Linked DNA regions of Homo sapiens: regions 2, 3 and 4 are each linked to region 1. The links are contacts of gene promoters, found by promoter capture Hi-C in blood cells and fetal thymus (Javierre and others, 2016). All regions are on one chromosome and are shown on one strand. The core of a region is centred on a gene start or on the middle of the fragment in contact, and the rest is flanking DNA. Distances in the headings are between cores, read along the strand shown.

What was found. The method cuts DNA at HindIII sites, captures the fragments that hold promoters and counts their contacts. A CHiCAGO score of 5 or more calls a contact.
Region 2: a contact is called between a fragment that was not itself captured here and the fragment with the promoter of CENPB in region 1, in 3 of 17 cell types (naive CD4 T cells, erythroblasts and non-activated CD4 T cells). The highest score is 5.7, in naive CD4 T cells.
Region 3: a fragment that was not itself captured here is called in contact with the fragment with the promoter of CENPB in region 1 in 12 of 17 cell types (naive CD4 T cells, activated CD4 T cells, non-activated CD4 T cells and 9 more); the score reaches 8.6 in naive CD4 T cells.
Region 4: a fragment that was not itself captured here is called in contact with the fragment with the promoter of CENPB in region 1 in 1 of 17 cell types (erythroblasts); the score reaches 5.5 in erythroblasts.

Annotation. Positions count from the first base shown.
Region 1 is chr20:3,784,492-3,790,415 of GRCh38, reverse strand. CENPB (centromere protein B) reads left to right here and starts at 3,676. Exons shown (of 1, transcript NM_001810.6): 1 at 3,676-5,924. The coding sequence starts at 3,933. The coding sequence ends at 5,732. It also overlaps a transcript of CDC25B not described here. RefSeq lists a silencer at 3,375-3,724 and enhancers at 3,560-4,269, 4,165-4,304, 4,270-4,980. The HindIII fragment of the contact is 5,522 bases long and covers 1,191-5,924 here.
Region 2 is chr20:4,037,352-4,043,275 of GRCh38, reverse strand. No RefSeq gene overlaps it. Among named protein-coding and RNA genes, the nearest start is that of RNF24, 25 kb to the right of the region's middle. RefSeq lists an enhancer at 5,283-5,332. The HindIII fragment of the contact is 1,383 bases long and covers 1,947-3,329 here.
Region 3 is chr20:4,017,212-4,023,135 of GRCh38, reverse strand. No RefSeq gene overlaps it. Among named protein-coding and RNA genes, the nearest start is that of RNF24, 4.6 kb to the right of the region's middle. RefSeq lists an enhancer at 5,851-5,924. The HindIII fragment of the contact is 1,376 bases long and covers 3,349-4,724 here.
Region 4 is chr20:3,919,558-3,925,481 of GRCh38, reverse strand. PANK2 (pantothenate kinase 2) reads right to left here. Exons shown (of 7, transcript NM_001386393.1): 7 at 1-2,238. The coding sequence ends at 2,188. Among named protein-coding and RNA genes, the nearest start is that of MIR103B2, 5.0 kb to the right of the region's middle. The HindIII fragment of the contact is 731 bases long and covers 3,394-4,124 here.

The sequences.
Region 1 (5,924 bases), core at 2,427-4,926:
CAGAGTGAGACTTGGTCTCAAAAAAAAAAAAAAAAAAAATTCCAAAATGGACTGTGGTGACAGTTGAGCACATCTGTGAACTGTACACTTTAAATGGGTGAATTGTATGCTTCTTGAAATATATCTTAATAAAACCTTTTTTTTTTTTGAGACAGAGTCTCACTCTGTCACCCAGGTTAGAGTACAGTGCCGTAATCTCGGCTCACTGCAATCTCTGCCTTTTCTTTCCTTCCTTCTTTCCTTCTTTCTTTTTCCTCCTTTCTTTCAAAACAAAGTTTGTTACCCAAGCTGTAATGCAGTGGTGCAATCATAGTTCATTGCAGCCTCATGCTCCTGGGCTCAGGTGATCCTCCGGCCCACCCCAGCCTCCCTAGGAGCTAGGACTACAGGCGCAAGGCACTATGCCTAGCTAATTTTTTTTTTTTTTGAGACAGAGTCTTGCTCTGTCGCCCAGGCTGGAGTGCAGTGGCGCGATCTCCGCTCACTGCAAGCTCCACCTCCCGGGTTCACGCCACTCTCCTGCCTCAGCCTCCTGAGTAGCTCGGACTACAGGCGCCCGCCACCATGCCCGGCTAATTTTTTGTATTTTTAATAGAGACGGGGTTCCACCGTGTTAGCCAGGATGATCTCGATCTCCTGACCTCGTAATCTGCCCACCTCGGCCTCCCAAAGTGCTGGGATTACAGGCATGAGCCACCGCGCCCAATGTTGTTCTCTTTATTTTTATTATTTATTATTATTTTTTGGCCGGGTGAGGTGGCTCACGGCTGCAATCCTAGTACTTTGGGAGGCCAAGGTAGGCAGATCACTTGAGGTCAGGAGTTTGAGACTAGCCTGGCCAACATGGTGAAACCCTGTCTGTACTAAAAATACAAAACTAAGCCAGGTATGGTGGTGTACACCTGTGATCCCAGCTACTCAGGAGGCTGAAGCAGGAGAATTGCTTGAACCAGGGAGGAGGAGGTTGCAGTGAGCTGAGATCACGCCACTGCACTCCCAGCCTGGGCAACACAGTGAGACTCCGTCTCAAAAAAAAAAATTAAAAATTAGCCAGGCATGGTGCCTCATGCCTGTAGTCCTAGCTACTGAGGAGACTGAGGCTGCAATGAACTATGATCGTGCAACTGTACTCCGTCCTGGGTGACAGAGCTAGACCCTGTCTCAAATAAACAAAAGGAGAATGGAAAGCTTGCTGAGGGGCCTGAAGGACAGCTCTGGGCAGGCTGGACCAAAAGAAGAGAAGGTGAGTTATGGATTTCCCAAACAGTCCTAAAAGCAGAAAGCTGGGACTTACAGAAAGAGGTGGGGAAGCCCGGGGCCTCAGATGGATTGCTGGGGGAAATGGTCACTTGAGAGGGGATGGAAATGGGCCCCGTGCACTGCTACAGGCAAAGGGTAGACGAGGTATCTGGAAATGGCTATGACATCAGCATATGATGGGCGTGGCTTTTCTGTCCTAGAAGTAATTGTGCCAATGCCCTTTGTATGGCACTAAGGAGGGGCCACAGGAAAGGAAAGGAAAGGAAGAGAAAGGAAGGAAGGAAAGAAAGAAGGAAAGGAAGGAAAAGAGAGAAAGAGAAAGAAAGAAGGGAAGGAAGGAAGGAAAGAAAGAAGGAAAGGAAGGAAAAGAGAGAAAGAGAAAGAAAGAAGGGAAGGAAGGAAGGAAAGAAACAAGGAAAAGGATGAAAGAGAGGAAAGAAAGAAAAGATGCATGGCAAGGAGTTCTCATCCAGGTAATCTTAGATTCATTTTTGCCCAGTGACCACACACTCCTCTTGGGCCAAGCAGTGCTCTGGAAAAGTCTCCCACGTGTTCTTTTGGACCTTGAGATTAAAAGAATATCTTTTATATCTCAGGGATAGGGAAGTCCTCTCTAAGTAAGACACAAAACCCCGAAGCAATAAGGAAAAAATTGACAGGTTGAAGATTAAAAACTTCTCATATCCAAAAGATTCCCTAAACTAACTTAGACAAGTGGCAGACAGGGAGAAAACATTTGCAACATACTTAACAAGATCTTTTCTTCAGAGCATGTAAAGAGCTCCTAAAAGTCAAGAAAAAGACAAACACATGGTCAAAGGATATGACTAGAAAATTCACAGGATTCAAATGGCCAAGAAACATACGAAAACAGAAATTTGCACTAAAACAGCAGTGAGTTACACTTTCTTCCTTTGGCTTCCAGAATGCCACAGTAGCCTGGTTTTTCTCCTGCTTCAGGGGCTCCTCCACTTCAAGAGTCTCTATTTGGTTCTTTCTTTCTTTCTTTCTTTTTTTTTGAGATGGAGTCTCACTCTTTTGCCCAGGCTGGAGTGCAGTGGCATGATCTTGGCTCCCTGCAACCTCTGCCTCCCAGGCTCAAGCGATTCTCCTGCCTCAGCCTCCCGAATAGCTGGGACTACAGGTGAGTGCCACCACACTTGGCTAATTTTTTGTATTTTTAGTAGAGACGGAGTTTCACTATATTGGCCAGGCTGGTCTTGAACTCCTGATCTCAAGTGGTCCCGCCTGCTTCGGCCTCCTAAAGTGCTGGGATTACAGACGTGAGCCACTGCACCTGGCCTCTTTCTTGAGCCCTTAACCTTGGAGGACCCAGGGCACTGTCCTTGGTCCTCTTTTCTTCTTTGTCTACACTCACCCACAGCTTCATCCAGCCCCAGGTCCTCAGCCTGTCCCCCTGGGTCACAGCCTTCCCCTCTGCCAATGCTGGAGTTCCCCTTAGTGCTGCCCTAAGAGATTTTTAAAAACACAGCTATACATTCATTGTTTTAAGAGCTTGGCATTTTAATGTTTTGCTGCAGGAGAGGGAGGCTTCAGGGATTCACACTTATGTATATACATGATGTTATTTCTGTAAGTGCAAACACATACATTTATGGCTATATGCATGGAAAAGCCCAGAAAGTGACACACCAAGATGTTATGAGTGTTTATCTATGGGTTGTGGGATTACTAGAACTTTAAAAATGTCATTAGCACCATCAAATAGATTTACAACTGTAATGCTGATTTTAAAAATAACTTAAGTGTGTAACAATAGGTTACATACGCTAGTGTTCATTCATAGCTGGAATGCTACACAATCATTAAAAAGCGTGTTGGCAATGATACTTACCGATATGGCAAAATTCTCACTACTTGATGCCAGGTAAAACAGCAGGAGATGCCAGATATACAGTCTATACAGTCTGATGCCAGTTTTATATAATAAATTTTTAAAAAGAAAACGACATGCATCTAGAGAAAAGACTGGAAGGAAATGTATCAAAATGTTACCTGTGCATCTCTCCAGGTGACGTGAAAAGCGTTTTTCAACTTCTTGAATTTTTCAGGTTCCGCAAAAAAAAAAGTGCGTTATTTTTACCTTAATTAAAAAAAAAAAAAACAAACAAAAACCCTGGTTCTTATTCTTTTTGAGCAGCAAGTCGCTGTCCGCCGGGCGCAGTAGCGATGCACCGCGTCCCCGCCCGCGTCGCTGCCGGGTCGCCGGAGGCCGCAGCACGGGCAGGTCCAGCAGGCCGCAGCGCCCCCCCGCGGTATGTCCCGGCGGCGGGAAGGGGGTGGGCGCGGAGGGCGGGGAGGAGGCGCCGGGCGTCCCCGCGCTTCCCGCGAGATCCCGCTCCGCCCGCTCCGCCCCGCTCGCCGCGCTCCCAGCTCCCCGCGCCGCGGCACTTCCTGCCTTCCGCGCCCGCGCCGCCCGCCCTCGTCTGCGCCCGTCGCCTGCCGCCCGCCGCCCGGCGACGCGCCCGCCGGCGTCCCCGGAGGTGCCCCCGGCCCGGCCGGGTCGTCGCCCCGCCGCCGCGCCCGCGAGCCGCTTTGTCTCGGGCGGGGCGCGCGGGAGAGGCCGCCAGGTGCCCCCCGCCACGGGCCCGGGCCCCCCGCCCCGGGGCGGCGGCGGCGGCGCCGGGCCCCGGGGCGGGGGGCGCGCCGGGATGGGCCCCAAGAGGCGACAGCTGACGTTCCGGGAGAAGTCACGGATCATCCAGGAGGTGGAGGAGAATCCGGACCTGCGCAAGGGCGAGATCGCGCGGCGCTTCAACATCCCGCCGTCCACGCTGAGCACGATCCTGAAGAACAAGCGCGCCATCCTGGCGTCGGAGCGCAAGTACGGGGTGGCCTCCACCTGCCGCAAGACCAACAAGCTGTCTCCCTACGACAAGCTCGAGGGCTTGCTCATCGCCTGGTTCCAGCAGATCCGCGCCGCCGGCCTGCCGGTCAAGGGCATCATCCTCAAGGAGAAGGCGCTGCGCATAGCCGAGGAGCTGGGCATGGACGACTTCACCGCCTCCAACGGCTGGCTGGACCGCTTCCGCCGGCGCCACGGCGTGGTGTCCTGCAGCGGCGTGGCCCGCGCCCGCGCGCGAAACGCTGCCCCCCGCACCCCGGCGGCGCCTGCCAGTCCGGCCGCGGTGCCCTCGGAGGGCAGTGGCGGGAGCACTACTGGTTGGCGCGCTCGGGAGGAGCAGCCGCCGTCGGTGGCCGAGGGCTACGCCTCGCAGGACGTGTTCAGCGCCACCGAGACCAGTCTATGGTACGACTTCCTGCCCGACCAGGCCGCGGGGCTGTGCGGAGGCGACGGACGGCCGCGTCAAGCCACCCAGCGCCTGAGCGTCCTGCTATGCGCCAATGCCGACGGCAGCGAGAAGCTGCCCCCGCTGGTGGCCGGCAAGTCGGCCAAGCCCCGCGCAGGCCAAGCCGGCCTGCCCTGCGACTACACCGCCAACTCCAAGGGTGGTGTCACCACCCAGGCCCTGGCCAAGTACTTGAAGGCCTTGGACACCCGAATGGCTGCAGAGTCTCGCCGGGTCCTGCTGTTGGCCGGCCGCTTGGCTGCCCAGTCCTTGGACACCTCGGGCCTGCGGCATGTGCAGCTGGCCTTCTTCCCTCCCGGCACCGTGCATCCGCTGGAGAGGGGAGTGGTCCAGCAGGTGAAGGGCCACTACCGCCAGGCCATGCTGCTCAAGGCCATGGCCGCGCTAGAGGGCCAGGATCCCTCAGGCCTGCAGCTGGGTCTCACGGAGGCCCTGCACTTTGTGGCTGCCGCCTGGCAGGCAGTGGAGCCTTCGGACATAGCCGCCTGCTTTCGTGAGGCTGGCTTTGGGGGTGGCCCTAATGCCACCATCACCACTTCCCTCAAGAGTGAGGGAGAGGAAGAGGAGGAGGAGGAGGAAGAAGAGGAGGAGGAAGAGGGTGAAGGAGAGGAAGAGGAGGAGGAAGGGGAGGAGGAGGAGGAGGAAGGGGGGGAAGGAGAGGAATTGGGGGAGGAAGAGGAGGTGGAGGAGGAGGGTGATGTTGATAGTGATGAAGAAGAGGAGGAAGATGAGGAGAGCTCCTCGGAGGGCTTGGAGGCTGAGGACTGGGCCCAGGGAGTAGTGGAGGCCGGTGGCAGCTTCGGGGCTTATGGTGCCCAGGAGGAAGCCCAGTGCCCTACTCTGCATTTCCTGGAAGGTGGGGAGGACTCTGATTCAGACAGTGAGGAAGAGGACGATGAGGAAGAGGATGATGAAGATGAAGACGACGATGATGATGAGGAGGATGGTGATGAGGTGCCTGTACCCAGCTTTGGGGAGGCCATGGCTTACTTTGCCATGGTCAAGAGGTACCTGACCTCCTTCCCCATTGATGACCGCGTGCAGAGCCACATCCTCCACTTGGAACACGATCTGGTTCATGTGACCAGGAAGAACCACGCCAGGCAGGCGGGAGTTCGAGGTCTTGGACATCAAAGCTGAGTCACTGGACCTAGCTGTGCCCCCAACCTAGATTGGCAGCACCACCCCAGGGCAGAGGACTCTCTGGGCACCCGCTGTGCATGGAGCCAGAGTGCAGAGCCCCAGATCCTTTAGTAATGCTTCCCCTGGTCCTGCAACAGGCCCGGTCACCTCGGCCGGGCCCGGGGCTGAGGTCAGCCTCACTGCCTGCTT
Region 2 (5,924 bases), core at 1,389-3,888, 250 kb before region 1:
TGATGGAATTGTGAGGTGGACAGGAGGGGACTGGGCCTTTCAGTCCTACTGTTCGTAGGTAAAGTGGGTGATATGGGTTGAATCATGTCCCCCAAAAAGATATGTTGAAGACTTAATCCCTGATACCTACAAACATGACTTTCCTTGGAAACAGGGTCTTGACAGATATAATCAAATGAAGAGAAGGTCATTAGGGTGGACTGTAATCCAATATGATTGGTGTCCTTATAAGAAGGAAATTGGACCCAGACACACACAGAAGAGAGAGCCACGTGAGACAGAGACACGCAAGGAGCATGCCACATGACAACAAAGGCAGAGCTTGGAGTGATGCTGCCGCAAGCCAAGGAACGCCACTCCAGAAACTCAGAGAAAAGCACAGAATAGGCCAGGTGCAGTGGGTCATGCCTGTAATCCCAGCACTTTGGGAGGCTGAGGCAGACAGATCACCTGAGTTCAGGAGTTTGAGACCAGCCTGGCCAACACGATGAAACCCCATCTCTACTAAAAATACAAAAAAAAATTAGCTGGGTGTGGTGACAGACGCCTGTAATCCCAGCTACTTGGGAGCATGAAGCAAGAGAATCGCTTGAACCCAGGAGGTGGAGGTTGCAGTGAGCTGAGATTGTGCCATTGCACTCCAACCTGGGCAACAGAGCAAGACTCTGTCTCAGGAAAAAAAAAAAAAAAAAAAAAGAGCATGGAATAGATTCTCTCTTAGAGCCCGGTTCTGCCAACACCTTGATCTCAGACTTCTAGCTTCCTGAACTGCGGGAGGATAAATATCTGTTGTTTCTGTCCACCCAGTGTATGGTACTTTGTCATGGCAGCCCTAGAAAATTAATGCAGTGAGTTTATTAGATATTGCCCCACGGTTTGCCAGAGTGCAAACCACTACATTTTTTCAGGGAAATCTGTGGATTGGATTCAGGAGGTTGGTGGCCACACCCACATACTGCCCTCCTGGGGATCTGCTTAAGCAGCCACCTGCTCTTTCCCAGGCAAATCCTTCTCTAAACCACCACCCTTGCCCTAATGCAGAAATAAAGGACTAGGGAGGGTTAGGAACTTGCCCAAGGTCACACAGCTGGCAAGCGGTGAGGCCAAGACTTGAACTCAAGTAGACCGATTCTCAAGCCCAGATGTTTATGACACTTGGGCTCTGAAAAGGATCCCCACCTGACACCACCCAAGCAGGCAGCTGGCGGGCACCTCCTCCCAGCCCCATCCCTGCTGGCTCGCCTCCCACTCCATGCTATGAGTCAGAGCAACCAGAGACTTTATGAGCCCAGGAATGGGCCAACTACCTGATAACCTGATTATGCAAAAAGCCACATGTGAAATTCCCGCCCTCATAACCACGTAATTTACAAGGAAATGAGTCCACCTTCTCCCCAGCCTTTGGCTGCCTGCCCTTCATGAAGGCTCAGTGGAGCTTTTCAGGCCAAAGTAGGAAAACAAAGAAGAAGGGCTCTATCCTGGCCCCCCTCCTGGTCTCTGAGAGCCCCCAACACTCGTCAGTCCACCTCCCAGACTGGAGTGCAGTGGTGCGATCACAGCTTACTGCAGCCTCACCTCCAGGGCTCAAGCCAGCCTCCCAGGTACAGGTGCGTGCCATCACAGCGGTTAGTTTCTATATTTTTAGTAGAGACAGGGTTTTGCCATGTTGCTAAGGCTGGTCTTGAACTCCTGGGCTCAAGTGATCTGCCTGCCTTGGCCTCCCAAAGTGCTGGGATTACAGGTGTGAGCCTCCGTGCCCAGCCTCCTTTCTGTCTTGGCCTCTGCATATTCCTCCAGGCAGTGGGGACCCGAGGAGTGGGAGGCTGGAAGGAGATTTGAAAAGGAGAATCAGGGACAGCCAAAGGGAAAAGGGAGAGAAGAGGATGCTGAAATTAAGAGATCAATAGCGGGGGACTGGGCCTTTCACCTCCTACTACTCAGAAGCTTGGCCTGAGACAAAACTCACCAAATGAAATAGCAAGTCTGTCCCCTGTGTCCTGGAACACCAGACCCAACAGTGAGGCTGGGTCCAGAGTGGGATGATGGCCACTGCTGACCAGTCCACAAGGCAGCTATCCAGCCCCTTTTAACGATCTCCTCTAGCTTTTAGGGTGAGAGCTTCTCATTTTTCTCAGATTCTCTCCAACCTCTGCCTCTATCATTGTTTCTTCTTTCCCTGTGCTCCTTAGGAGCATTTACCATGTGTCAGACATGGTGCTGGGGACAGAGAAATGAGTGAGGCCACACACAGTCCCTGCCTCCTGGAGTCTACAATTAAGTCTTCCATTTTCCTCTTTTTCCTGAATGCCAATGCTCCCTGTGGTTCAGTCTGCAGCATTCGTGTCCTCTCTCTCTCTCTCGCTTTCTCTTCTGAAAGCAAATATTTTTCCCTCTTTTTCTTTTTATGATCTTTGTTTTTAAAAAAGAAATTTAATGGATAAGTTAAATTTCCTCTTTCTCCCAGAGTTCATCATTCTCCTGATTAGTAAGAATATAGCACCTACTATGTGCCAGGCACCTGACACACATTAACTCATTTAATGCTTCAAACAAAGCAGGTAGGCACTATTGCACCATTACTTGCTCCCAGTACCTCCTTCTCCTGCTGCCCTTGCTCTGGATCACTGTGGGTGGTGTATACTTTCCCTACCCCACTGGAATGTGGGTGGAAGCAATATGCCAGTTCTGGGCCAAAGACTCAAGAAGGCATCATGTGCTTTCAGCAGCCACCCATGCATGTGACCTCTGCCCTGAAAAGAACAAGCCCTGGATAGTTGCTGGTGGAGACACGTGGAGCAGACATGAACCTAAGCCACTTCCTGGAGCCCAGTCCAGCAGAGCCACAGCCAACTCACAGGCTTGTGGATAGAAAATAACTGCTTGTGGTTGAAAGCCACTGAGCTTAGGGGTTGTTTGTTACACAGCATTAGGGCAGCAATTGCTGGCTGATACAATTGGCATTTCCCATTTAACACATAAGCAAGCTGAGGCCTGCAGAGGTTAAATAACTTCTCCAAGATTATACAGCTAGTAAGAAAAGGAACTAGGATGCAAATCCAAGCAATCTGGCTGCAAGTCCCACTACTCTATATTGAGTATTAGCATTCCCAAGCATGCTGTTACACTTTTACTATATATGTGTGTGTTTGTGTATGTGTGTATATATGTTTACTATGTTACATACATATATGTTTACTATATATACACAGATATATACATACATAAATGCATATATACATATATACACATATATATGTAAACGTATTGTTTTGCGTGTCTTTAAACTTTATATAAATGGCAACATTAGGCCCGGCACGGTGGCTCAAGCTTGTAATCCAGCAGCTTAGGGGGCCAAGGCAGGTTGATCACTTGAGGTCGGGAGTTTAAGACCAGCCTGGCCAACATAGTGAAACCCTGTCTCTACTAAAAATACAAAAATTAGCCGGGCATGGTGGTGCACGCCTGTAGTCCCAGCTACTTAGGAGGCTGAGGCAGGAGAATCACTTGAACCTGGGAGGCGGAGATTGCAGTGAGCCGAGATCATGCCACTGCACTCCAGCCTGGGCGACAGAGCAAGACTCAGTCTCAAAAATAAATAAATAAATAATACATAAATAAATGGCAACATTATATATATCATTTGGTAGCATGCTTTTTTCACTCAACATCATGCTTTTAGAGTTATCTCTGATGATACTCATAAATCTTGTTTATTTTACCTGCTGTATTCCATTACGTGAATAGATCCAACTTCCTATAAGATGCACATTTCATTTATTTCCAGCTTTTGTTTTTTCAAATTATGCTGCAATGAACATTCCTTGTCTCCTCATGCACATGCAAAGTTTCTCTTGGGTATGTGACTGGAAGTGGAATTGCTGGGTCACAGGCCATGTGTGTCTTCCTCTCTATACAATATTAGCAAATTGCTTTCTAAAGTTTTATTCCAATCTATAGCAGGGTGTGAGATTATCTGCTACTCCACATCCTTGCTATAGTAGAGGATACTGGTGCCCCACACAGATCCCCTTAACAGGCTGGTCCACCCCTGGCCCAGCTGCTGCATGTGTCAGCTGCTAAGGGCTCCCAGAAATCCCCTTGCTGGAGAATCACGCTTGGTCATGGGAGTCCCCCGTCTTGTAACCCCTGCATGATTCCAGGCCCACAGTGGACCTCTATTTATCTGTTTTGAATGGGATCCAAAGGGTAGAAAGAAGAGAGGGAAGCAAGAGAAAGATGCCGCAGTCCCCCTCTTCTTGCCTGGAGCCTCCCAAGCTCCAAGGCAAAGGAAGACAAGGGGAGAGGAAGAGGAGGAAGGAAGAAATGAAGGAATGGCTCCAAGGAGGCGGACAGTAGGGAATATACATTTCAAAGCCTATCCCCTGGGCAGGTGGGCTGGAGAGTGGAAATGGGCAAGCCTCCCCGGGCAGGTGATATCGAAAACCCCGTGTCATCCCCTGCTGGGGAAAGCTGATTCTGCCTCCATCATCCTCTTGCTGACTTACTCCTTCATCTCCTTGCCTTTCTATGCCTGTGACACCTAATTCCCTGAGTCCATTCATTCACCTTGTTTGTTCACTGTATGCATCTCCAGAGAATGTTGTCCCATGCAAAGTAGCAGTTCATTGTTTATTGAGAGAATTAAATGATGAAATTCACTTGGTACCCACAGGATTTTTAATAGGAGACAAAAGGCTTTATAGAAGTTCCAAATTAATAATTTTTCCCCAAGTGTTACCAAACCCTCCATTTATACTCATTGCCCACAGGCACTTCCAATTATGAAACCATAGCCCATTTTCCATCACAAACCTAGTTTCTCTCTTTTTCCTCTCCCTGCTCACAGAGCCCTGCTCCCTCCTGTCGTTCTCTGCGATCCTAGTGCCCTGGGACAGGCTCCACCCGCCCTCTGGGCTGACTGCAGCTCCAGGCCGCACTCCCTTTCGGCTTCATGTGCACATTCTTGGCAGCCATTAAAACTCCTCTCTGAAACCACAGGCTCCACCCTCACCCTGCCTCTCTGCGGCCCTACCTCAGCCAAGGACTTCCTCAGAAGTAGACCCACCCCCCTGTCTTCTCCAAGCTGCTGTCACTGTCACCATCATCTCACTTCCTCTACCTCCTTCCCCCAGACACACACGCACATGCACACAAACACACACAGTCACGCATACACACACCACATGCTATGTAACCACTGAAATATGTCTTCCTCTGTATTTCTGCATTTTAGTTTATAGCCCCTTGTACCACCTTCCCCTTCTCACAGCACTGGCTTCCTCTGGGCAGATGTTGCCAACTCAGAGCCCCTTTTATTCTGAACCCTGGACCATGGGCATGTGGTGGACAGAATAATGATACCCTTCAAGATGCCCACATCCTAATCTCCAGAAGCTGTGAGTATATTACCTCACATGGCACAAGGGACTTTATGATGTGATGTGTTTAAGAATCTCAAGAGCCTGTAATACCAGCCAAGGCGGGCGGATCACTTGAGGTCAGTTCAAGACCAACCTGGGCAACATGGTGAAACCCAGTCTCCGCCAAAAAATACAAAAATTAGTCGGGCATTGTGGCACATGCCTGTAGTCCCCAGCTACTCGGGAGGATGAGGCAGGGGAATCACTTGAACCCGGGAGGCGGAGGTTGCAGTGAGCCGAGATCATGCCACTGCACTCCAGCCTGGGCGACAGAGCAAGACTCCATCTCAAAAAAAAAAAAAAAAAAAGGAGTGGGAAGGCCAGCACAGACAGAACCACCTTTGTGCTTTGGAGAATGCCCTCAGGCAAAGAGATGTAGTTTCTAGTTACAGAGCACACTGTAGTCATGAGTCCCACGTACTGAGGTGGGTACACGTTCAGTCAGCAGTGCCTCCCTCCAGAAAGGAGGCATCCCCCTACCCTTGGCCTCCATACCTTTCCTGC
Region 3 (5,924 bases), core at 2,787-5,286, 230 kb before region 1:
TCTTTAGCTCTCTGCTCTTGATTAAGAGTAAAGGACTATGAAAAACCCTGAGTGCAGGAACTGGGCTTGTCAACTGTGATTCACCGTAGGGAGACATGGATGGTCGTTTACTGGAAATCTGAATGCCAGTATCCTTCATTCTTTCCCTTTTGGCTGGTCAGAGTGCTCAGAGAAGAGAGGTGGAGAGTAGCTGCCAGTGATTTGGGAAGTGATCAGAGAAGAAAGCTGAGGTTCTCAGCATGCAGTGAGGAAATAGTCACTTAACGCCCCTGTTCTCCACATGCCACCTTTGTCCTCAGCCACGCCTGGTGCCCCAGCCCAGAGATCCTCCTTTTTACTCTCTCCGGAGGTGAAATCTCCAGCCCTCTGCCTGATGAGAGAGAGAAACCTGCTGCTCGGAGAGTGGAAGAGGGGAACTAAGATTTTAACTGCTTCCCAATCACCTTTCACCCAGTTATCCTGATTCTTTGGCTTGCCCAGTACCAGAGATATCTAGGACTGCCAATTCCCATTTTTTTTTCTGTTTTTCTTTCTTTCCCCACCCCCCCTTGGATTTTGCCATGAAAATAGGGCTACTCTTAACTTTCCCTGGGTTTCAGCTTTCTTGGGGCTGCTGAGTCGATTACCACTCACCCATCTGTTTTCTATCTTCCAACTTATTTTTCCCCCACTATTGTCTACTCTGTTCTCTCTGTCCTCATGAGTTTGTGTCTTTAAACAAAATCCCTTTATAATAGTTTTAGTGAGTTTTGGGAGGAGCAAAAGTAGATGGGTGGATTCAATGCACCATCTTAACCTGGAAAAAAACTCCAATGGTATTAGGGAGATGTCTCCTCCCTGCATTCCCCTCCTTGTGAGCCCCTTTGGATGACAGACAGGCAAGTGAGAAACTAAGTAATGGAACCAAAGGCCTGGGATGGAAGCCGTGTCTCCCCATGGACAATGCTGTTCCACTACAGAATCCAAGCTTCTTCCCTCAGTCATGGCCTGAGTCAGCCTTTGAGGGAATAAAGGGCTGGAGTCCAGATTATGATGGCGTAGGTTGGAAGGGTAGGAAGCCAAGAAAAACTAAGGAAGCCTGCCTGGAGGAAGCACTGCAGCAGCAGGAAAAGCAGAAGATACAGAGTCTCTTTATCTGCATGGTGTCCTTATCTCCCAAATGAGAGAATTCATCTCTTCCAACTCTGCATCTATGACTCTGTGGGGATAAAAGTCACTCCAGAAAGCCTGTCTGCTTTCTTGCCCTGTTCCTCTTTCCCGTCTGTTGCTTTGGGATGAGGTGATAATGATTGGGAACTATTTGGGTAGATTGGATAGGTTGAAATGGAGGAAAAAGAAAACCAGCATAGTTCCTTTTTCCTAGAATGAGTTATGGGCAAAGATATATCATTCCACTTTATTCCTTTCTCTTTAAAGCTCAGGCCTAACAGAACCTAGCAGAGAGAAAAGGCAGTGATATAATTGGCTGGGGGAAATTGGAGGGGCAGAAGCTGTGATGATGGTGGTAGCCAAATGGTGGTCACAGCTGTGGGGGTTGTGTAATCAATAACTGGAGGAGCTTAGCAGAGCGGCTTGCTTTGTTCCATAGATGTAACTTGAAAGTACCCTCTGGGAGGCTGAGCTGGGCAGATCACTCAAGGCCAGGATTTTGAGACCAGCCTGGCCAACATGGCAAAACCCTGTCTCTACTAAGAATACAAAATTTAGCTGGGCATGGTGGCACACGCCTGTAATCCCAACTATTCAGGAGGCTGAGGCACAAGAATCACTTGAACAACCAGGAGGCAGAGGTTGCAATGAGTCTAGATGGCGCCACTGCACTCCAGCCTGGGTGACAAGAGTGAGACTCTGTCTCAAAAAAAGAAAAGAAAAGAAAAGAGGGCCAGGCGCGGTGGCTCATGCCTGTAATCCCAGCACTTTGGGAGGCCAAGGCAGGTGGATCACGTGAGGTCGGGAGTTCAAGACCAGCCTGACCAACATGGAGAAACCCCGTCTCTACTAAAAAAATACAAAATTAGCCAGGCATGGTGGCGCATGCCTGTAATCCCAGCTACCTGAGAGGCTGAGGCAGGAGAATCTCTTGAACCCGGGAGGCGGAGGTTGCAGTGAGCTGAGATCATGCCACTGCACTCCTGCCTGGGCAACAAGAGCGAAACTCCGTCTCAAAAAAAAAAAGAAAAGAAAAGCAACCAAGACACTGAAGTCAGTGGAGAAATACTCTGGCCTCCTGGTCATCCAGGCAGACAATGCTGAGGGCTGTTCTACAAGGTTTCTCAGTGGACGCCAAGCCAGACTGAGCCTCAGTTGCCCATGGCAGTAACTGGCCCATCAGCATACCTTACTGTTGGCTTCTCTCCCTTTCACAGCTTGCTTTCCCCATTTCTTCACTCTTATTTCCTGGAATCACCTCCCAAGTAAATTACCTACATCCAAGCCCTTGTCTTAAGATCTGTTCTTGGGAGAATCCACGCTGAGATGGGTATCCTCCAATCTAAAAGTGAGTCTGAGCAGGTTGTTCCACCCCTGGGAAATAGTGCTTCCAGTCTCCTGCATGTGTGGCTGGTCTCAGCTAAAAAGCTCCCACATGAGATCTTGAGAACATTTATATTTTCAGGAGTTCTGGGTGATTGGGCTTGTGTGTGCCAGAAAGGCAACGGGGCTTGTTGGTGGCTGGGTAAACAGAATCCCAGGTTCCCACCTCCTTCGCTGGCTTGTGGGTGGACACACAGCCAGTCCTAAAGGTACCATGCACACAGAAACCTACGCTTTCTCCCCAACTCTTGCTGTTTCACAGTCTTGCACACACATTCTGCATTAAGAAGCAATTCCGGTGGCTCATGCCTGTAATTCCAGCACTTTGGGAGGCCGAGGCGGGTGGATCTTGAGGTCAGGAGTTCGAGACCAGCCTGGCCAAGATGGTGAAACCCTGTCTCTTCTAAAAATACAAAAATTAGCTGGGCGCAGTGGCAGGTGCCTGTAATCCCAACTACTCGGGAGGCTGAGGCAGGAGAATCACTTGAACCCAGGAGGCGGAGGTTACAGTGAGCCAAGATTGCACCACTGCACTCTAGCCTGGGCGACAGAGAGACTTCATCTAAAAAAAAAAAAAGAAGAAGCAATTCCACCCCTCCGTGGGCAGCGTCACGCCCCAGCAAGAGGTCCCCATGGGCTATGAGGAGGAGAGGGCCATTGGGAGGGATCAAGGCAGGAGGAGTCACTTTGGAATTCTTGGATGAAGAGGCTCGGGGAACACAGAACATCTCCTCCTCTACTGGCACAGTCCAACGGGTCAAAGCATTATATGATCAACCCTTAAAGGGGTCATTTAGAACTCTGAATAATTAAGCTTTCAAAGGATTGACCAGTGGGAGGGATGTTTTTCTGAAATCGTGCCATCTCAACAGATGGGGAGGATGGACAGAGGAATGGGGCTATAGGCAACCTTTGATTTCTAGCTTCTGTTTGAAAGACTGATTTTGTCTTGACCAGTCAGGCATTCATTCAACAAACTTGTATTGGGCACCTGATCCAAAGATGACTAAAACCAGCCCCTGTTCTCACTGTTCCAAAATTAGTCAGACGTTTGATTTAAAAGTAGTTGTGATTTCTTTTCCAGGAGTCTTGAAGGACTTCTGACCATATGGGTAGGGACAATTTTCTGAGATGGATTTGGGGTGAGGACATTGCTTAAAAGGAGGTATAAGGGCTGGGCGTGGTGGCTTACACCTGTAATCCCAGCAATTTCGGAGGCCGAGGCAGGTGGATCACCTCAGGTCAGGAGTTTGAGACAAGCCTGACCAACATGGAGAAACCCCGTCTCTACTAAAAATACAAAATTAGCTGGGCGTGGTGGCGCATGCCTGTAATCCCAGCTACTCAGGAGGCTGAGGCAGGAGAATTGCTTGAACCTGGGAGATGGAGGTTGCAGTGAGCCGAGATGGCGCCACTGTACTCCAGCCCAGGCAACAAGAGCGAAACTCCATCTCAAAAAAAAAAAAAAAAAAAAAAAAGAGGTATAAGGGAGGAGATGGGAGGGGACTGTGGGGAGGAAGGATAAAGAGAAAGAGGGGCATCCTCCGAAACTCCAAACAGTGAAGTCTTCCCTACCCTACCCCTACCCATCATGTGGAACAAGGAAAATGTTAGCTGCGAAGCCACCACTTCAAGTCCTAGCTGCCTGCTGTTTTGAGGTACCCACCTAAACCCTCCAGAGAAAGAATTGCCCACCCACACTCTCCCATCACTTGCATTTTGCCTAGACCAGTGGGGGCTGGGAGTGGTGGGGGGATGAGTAGACTCATGTGCATCACTAAGCAAAGAGGATCAGGGACTAGCAGGTGAACCTCCAGCCGGAAGCACCAGGAGGACAAAAACTGTGATTTCTTCCTTAAGGGGAACACGGGACAACCCGCTACAGGGGACAGAAGAGCAGGATCCTGCCATATGTTGTAGAAACTGTGAGGCCAGATTCCACCTGTCCAGTCCCAAAGGAAAACTTTCTCCTTGACCCTAAAAACCAGTTGGGCCAGTTGATGACACAGCAAAATTTTAATAAGATGAGTCTCCCTGAAAACAGCAACTGGACACGGCCCCTCCTCCTTCCGTTCATTCTCTCATTCTCTTTCCCACTCACCCCTAATTTTTTCAAGAACAAAAGACATGAAATGAGCCACTCCATCCTCTACCCTACAGCCTGATTGGACTAGTGAATTACTAGCCAAGCTTTCTAAACAAACAAACAAAACAGGTTTCCAAACGCAGGGCAGAGGAAGGAAGCCAAAATAAGGAAGAAGAAAGAAAAGGAGCTCAGCCTTTCCTTCTCCTGTGGAGCCTCCCCAGCCCACCAGGGAACATCACCTCCACCAATAGCCACAGCAGACCCACTATGTGCCAGTCACATATTAGGTCCTGGGAGATACTGATCCTGCTGATGAAGGACTCACATGCTGGTGTGGTAAGAAAATATGCAAATGAGCAGGGACCTTGGAGGGTGCCTAGTGCTGAGAGGGAAGTGGGTACAGGGCACAGGTGGGGATTCTCAAGGAAAGTCTGTCAATAAGTGGGGGCAGAAAAAAATACTTTATCAAAAATGACTTTGTAAATACTTTACTTTTTTTTAGAGCAGTTTTAAGTTTGCCACAAAAGTGAGAGGAATGTGCAGAGTTCCCAACTAGCCCTTCCCCCCTACACATACATAGCCCCCCCATTATAAACATTCTCCCACGGGAGCATTTATTACTATTGTTGGACCTACATTGGCACATCATTATCACCCAAAATCCATGTTTACATTAGAGTTTGCTGCTGGTATTATTCATTCTATGGATTTAGACAAATGTGTCATGACAGGTATCCACCATTATGGTATCATACACAGAGTATTTTCACTGCCCTAAAAAGCATCTGTGGATTTTCAGAGAAAAGAGCAACTTTTGCATGCTAGGTAAGTATTGCTTTCCTAGTAGGGGAACAGCAGGAAACAGCAGTCACCTTGGTGACTACTGAGGTGAAACACCATGGTGCTGTTCTGTAAATGGCTGGAAAATAAGGCTCAAGGAGCCAGATGGGGCAGGGAAAAAGAAAAAGACAGAAACACAGGCAGATTTGAATACCATGAGAATCGATTTGCATGAGAATGGATTGAGACTTCTGCAACAGCCCAGGGGAGAGATGAGGGGGCTGATTTAGAACAGTGAGAGGTTTGAGCAAAGCAAAGTTGAAAAGACCCTCCAGGTAACTGCTATGATTGACAGCAAGGAGGGCAGTGTTCCCCCAGCACAGCCCTGGCACAGGCAGCTCTAGAGGAAGCCTGGGTCTCCCACTCCCTTCCTTTTGCCACAGTCTCCCTAGCACATGCCTCCACCCTTCTCTCACTTTGGGGGACTGTGACCATTGGGTGGCAGGTGACTTCTTGAGAAATTCAC
Region 4 (5,924 bases), core at 2,510-5,009, 130 kb before region 1:
CAGGCGGATCACCTGGGGTCTGGAGTTCGAGACCAGCCTGGCCATCATGGTGAAACCCCATCTCTACTAAAAATATAAAAATTAGCCAGCCATGGTGGCACATGCCTGTAGTCTCAGCTACGCAGGAGGCTAAGGCAGGAGAATTGCTTGAGCCTGGAAGGCAGAGGTTGCAGTGAGCTGAGATCGCCCCACTGCACTCCACCTGGGTGACACAGCGAGACTGTCTCAAAAACCCTGCTGTGGAGTGACAGGGTTTACTGAGCACAAGGTGGAACATGAGGGAATGGACTAGTTTCTCTAGAGTAGGGGGAGGGCCCACGGAGGAGGAAGCTCAAAGCGAGGCAGAAGGGGACATCAACAGCGTCTTCCCAACTCAGGCACCAGAGACAGACAGTCCCGGGTTTGAGTCCAGCTCTACTCTTTTCCAGCTGAGTGACCCTGGGCAGCCTTACTCATCCGTTCAGTTTCCTTTTCTGTTAAATTGTGGGAACAGCAAGGGCTGCATGGTGACCCACGTCGAGCAGTGGACAACCTCCTGAACGCAGCACAGCAGAGGCAGCAGGACCACAAAACAGGGGCCTCAGAGGGGCAGGCCCTGGCCTCGGTCTCCATGGGAAGTGAGCAAGTTCACAGGAGTTGGCCCAGGGAGCAGCACCCTGTGGTACAAGCAGGAGGATGGTGGTGCCATCTTTGGTGCCTGGGTACTGGAGGAGGGTGAGGCCACCAACAGCGCTGCTGGCAGCAGAGGAGGGCAGAGGAACTCAGGATCAGGGCGTCAGAGGTAGTATAGGCCAGGAGCCTGCAAACAGCAGCAGCAGGGAAGAGGGTCACCAATCACTCTCCAGGGGACAAAATTACCCTCCACGCAGCAGCCATCCTGCTCTGCACCCACACAAGGTCCCAATGCAGCAGCACCCATATTTCCTAAGTGCCAAGGCCCATGTGCAGAGGTGGCCACGCCTAGTGGAACAGCCCACAGCCCACATATCAGTTCCCCTTGCCCCAGCTGGAACACGGGTGTCTCTGCTGCCTCCATGCGGCTGGCACCCTGCCCATCCCTCCCTGACCACAGCCTTAAACGGAGGGGAGCAGGGAGGCTGCAGAGCCTTGGGGTTTTCCCTCCTGGTCCAAGGCTGCTTTGTACAGGCCCATCCTTGCCTTCAACAGCAATATGGGCACCACTTAAGACCTCAGATATAAAAGGTGCATTCTCTCCTTGGGAAAGGCTTTTGAAATTATTCTGCAAAGCAGAAAGAAAAGCTTCAGCCCCTACCAAGAGCACCTGCAGCCTGGCACTCTCCTCAGGCAGTCTTCTGAGACTCACCTCCCAAGTGCCACAGTGCCCTGAAGGACCCCCCACTCCCCATGAGTTCTTTGACAGACACTTCAGTTCTTCCTTTTCTACTTAGCCTGAAAGAAAAACCAGATTCTCCCTGATCCCCTGAGGGGGTGTCAATTCTAGTGGCCCTGCTGACTCATGTTAGTCCTCCAGATTGTGCTGCTTCTGCCAGTGTACCCACTTGCATCAGAACAGTCCGCCCACTACCCAAGGAAATTCTGCCAAGAAAAGAAGCCCTGTCTCTCCAGACATTCATTCCCAGGATTTAGTGTAAAGTAACGTGGAACTGCCCTTCCAAAAACTGCTTGTTAAGTTTCAGGTACACAATTAACCTGCCCAATTAATTTTGCAGAACCTTGAAATAAAACATGTTTTACAGTAAGTTCACACACAGGCTTAATGCAAACCAGAGTAATGCACAGATGATTGCCAAGACCATATTGACAAATTGTGATTAGATTATAACGCATAGTAGCCTGCCTTACATTCAGCAAGTTCAAACAGGACACAAAACCAGTCAACTGAACACAGAGCAGCTCTCTTCAGAAGCACTTCCAATGAGTGATGCAGAGATTTCAAAAATACAAAGCAGGCAACTTATATACAGCAAATCCTCACACTGCCTGGACATGTGCCACTTTTTTGTTGTTTTTAATATATTTTTCCTTCCTGGTTGCTAATTTAGACTGAATTCTTAAGGATTTATCTTGATGACTTAGAAAAATACACCTGTCCTTTCTCACTTTGTTTCAGGTAGTACAGTCATGAAATTGAGTAAGTCTCTTAAAAAAATGAAAGTCCACAGATCCCATTGTGGAAGGTTTCAGGAACCCCTCCCCAGGTAATGATCACGGGATCTTCAACAGCTCAAGGAGTGCTCCAACAGCTCCAAAATAACCCTGAAAGAAAATACACCAAAAATAAGTGCAATTTTCCTTAGACTTATTCAAATCACCTTACACATGATGACTAGTGTTAAAGCCAACCACTGCCCACACACAGCATACCCATTTCCTGAGCACCCCAGAAGGGCCAAGGCCAGCCTGGGAGCAGAGACGCCCTAAGGAGTCCCTGTCTGGGGAGGGGGCTGGATGTCCTAGACTATCCAAGCACTTCAGACCACTGTGATAAGAGGAAAACCAAACCCGCAGTGAGGGCGACAGGAGCTATGAGGCCAGCAGCAGCTCAGTTACCTCTGGTAAGAGACAGAACCTGACTGTTTCTGGGGAATGAGGTGAGAAGCAGCAGAGGCCTGGAGCATTTCCAGACAACTAAGGAATGAAGGCGAGGTCGGATGCAAAGTGCAATGAAACAGGTGAAGTTGTGAGGTGGGTCACAGAGGGTGAGAGCCCGACTGAGCTGGGAGAGGGAGGGAGAGTAAGAGATAAGATGGATTCAAGATTCACCCCTAACAGAGGACAGGACAGCAGGAGGGGGCAGCATCCCCGAGAAAGGGGACACAGGAGTAAGAGGTGTGGAGAGCAAGGCCGGTGGGTGAGTTCCCTACAGGACATGGGAAGCTGAGGTGCCCACAGCAGCCAAGCAGCTGTGCCCGGGTGGTCACCAGACACCTGGATCACTGGCCCAGAAGCAGGCGGCACAGGAATGAAAACCACCACCCAAAGGTAACGTGAAGAGAGGTACAGAACAAAGAGCAAAGCCTGAGGAAGCACGGAGGCTCCCGAGGGAGGGCAGCCCTCAGCCCTCCTGAGACACAGAAGCAGCAGCTGAGAGACGACAAGCACTGTACTGTCTCCAGAAGCAGTCAGGTCACATGCAACCAAGAACTCAAAACCAAAACACAGGAATAGCACATTAGAGAAAACGGGGCAAACCCCATAATGACAGAAAAGAGAACACTAGCAAGAATCAGAGGCAAATCCTAAAACGATGCAGAATCCATCAGGGTCTCCAACCTGTAAGGTAAGATATCAGACTACTTTTTAAAAGAAATAACTAAAAAAGGAATGAGAAGATCCTGAAAGACTTGTGTATGGATTTTTTAAAAGTCTCTGAAACATAAATAACTACCACTCTATCTTTCACGAAAAGCTTCTTCAAGAAACCTGATCAAACGAGAGGCCAAAGGCTTTCTTGTCACACTCTAGTTGGCAATTTAAAAGAAAGGCATATTGGCTGGGCGCAGTGGCTCACAGGTAACCCAGCACTTCGGGAGGCCAAGGCAGGTGGATCACTTGAGGTCTGGAGCTCAAGACCAGCCTGGCCAATATGGCAAACCCCGTGTCTCTACTAAAAATACAAAAATTAGCCAGGTGCGGTGGCACGTGCCTGTAGTCCCATCTACTCAGGAGGCTTAGACAAGAGAATCACTTGAACCCAGGAGGCAGAAGTTAAAGTGAGCCGAGACTGCGCCACTGCACTCCAGCCTGGCTGACAGAGTAAGACCCCATCTCAAAAAACAAAAAAAAGAAAGGCATATTGACCATCTTTGGTTTTGGTGTGTATAAATAAAATAAAGGCAGCCACACCAATCTGTGATGTGAGGCGGCCAGCAGCTACAGGACAAGGCACAGCTGAAATACAGAGGCAAGGCTGTTTGTCTTAATAGTTCACTATACAGTTTGTTTTAGGCAGCTTTCTGTACCTTTTATTTTATAATAAAAATATAGAAGATACAGTTAACCATTATATATATATATGGGGGGGGTCCACTGAAGACTAGGATGCTACTATCAAGACAGAAACAGGTGGTTATAAACTACAACGTGCTAAGATGAGAATAAAGGATCAAAGAGGAAACGCTTGAGAGAATCTATACGAAGCTTTCACAACAAAAGTTAAAGTGACTTCAATGTGAGGGCAAGAAAATATTTCAAGGCTCAGAGAGGCTAAAATAATCAAAGTTCTGAACTGAACAATGAGAACACTTGGACACAGGAAGGGGAACATCCCACACCAGGGCCTGCCATGGGGTGGGGGGAGGGGGGAGGGATAGCATTAGGAGATATACTTAATGTAAATGACGAGTTAATGGGTGCAGCACACCAACATGGCACATGTATACGTATGTAACAAACCTGCGCGTTGTGCACATGTATCCTAGAACTTAAATAAAAAAATAAAATAAAATAATCATCAAAGTTCCACAAGGGCAGAGATGCACACAAGAGTCAAAGGCCTGAATGCAAATGGAAAACACAGGGACAAATGGACCAGCAAAGCTAAGCAGTGGGAAAAACAAAGTCAGCGAGCAATAAGGACAAAATGCAACCAAGAATTTCACGAAGGCTTATAACTATTATGATGATATCGGTTTGGTGTTTTGTTTTTTGTTTTGAGATGGAGTTTCGCTCTTGTTGCCCAGGCTGGAGTGCAGTGGTGCGATCTCGGCTCACCGCAACCTCTGCCTCCCGGGTTCAAGAGATTTTCCCACCTCAGCCTCCCAAGTAGCTGGGATTACAGGTATGTGCCACCACGTCCAGCTAATTTTTGTATTTTTTGTAGAGACAGGGCTTCTCCATGTTGGTCAGGCTGGTCTTGAACTCCTGACCTCATGATCCGCCCACCTCGGCCTCCCAAAGTGCTGGGATTACAGGCGTGAGCCGCTGCACCTGGCCTGTTTGGTGTTTTTGTTTGTTTTGTTGTTGTTGTTTGTTTTTGTTTTTGAGACAGAGTCTCGTTCTGTTGCCCAGGCTGTAGTACAGTGGTGCGATCTCAGCTCACTGCAACCTCCGCCTCCCAGATTCAAGAGATTCTCCTGTCTCAGCCTCCCGAGTAGCTGGGGATTATAGGCGCCCGCCATTGCGCCCAGCTAATTTTTGTATTTTTAGTAGAGACAGGGTTTTGCCACATTGACCATGGTTGGCCAGGCTGGTCTCCTGACCTTAGGTGATCTGCCCATCTCAGCCTCCCAAAGTGCTGGGATTACAGACGTGAGCCACCGCACCCAGCCTATTTTTTTTTTAAGGTTAACTTAAAAAACTAATCTCCATGTTCTACCTAGGAAAAGGTTAAACAAGAGGCAGAAATAAAGCAGAAAAAGATCTAACATTCGAGTTTAAAAAATTCTAATATAAAGCAAAATAAAATAAGTCAGATCACAAAAAAAGATGTATACAGAAACATGAACTGTAAGAAACTTAATGGCAATTCGGTGCTGGTTTACAAATACAGTAATGTTAGAATTTTAAAACTAAGTTAGATGACTTCAATTTTAAGCTTTTTGATATGGGGATTTGTGTACTTTGGACTTCAACTATGAACTAAAGCAATTTAAAAAGAAAAACTTAAAGTAACTTTAAAGGAAAAAGTAATCTCTAGCACTTCAAATCTGTGCTATTATCTGGACTTTGATTTCCTTTAATTCATATAGACTGTTAAACTAAATATGCAATACAATTCTGAAAAATGTTCATAATAACAGTATCTAAAATCCAAGAACAGTTGAAAGAATAGTTCAACTGCCCCACAACCAAGAAGGGAAGAAAGAACCCCTACACGCCTTTCCATACCTCTGCTTCTTTTTCCCCAAATAGGAAAAATAAGAGTGCTTTCCAAGACAGGCTATGAGGTTGAGCAATTTGATTCTTTTCCATTTCATCATTTCCAGCCTGTCTACAATTGT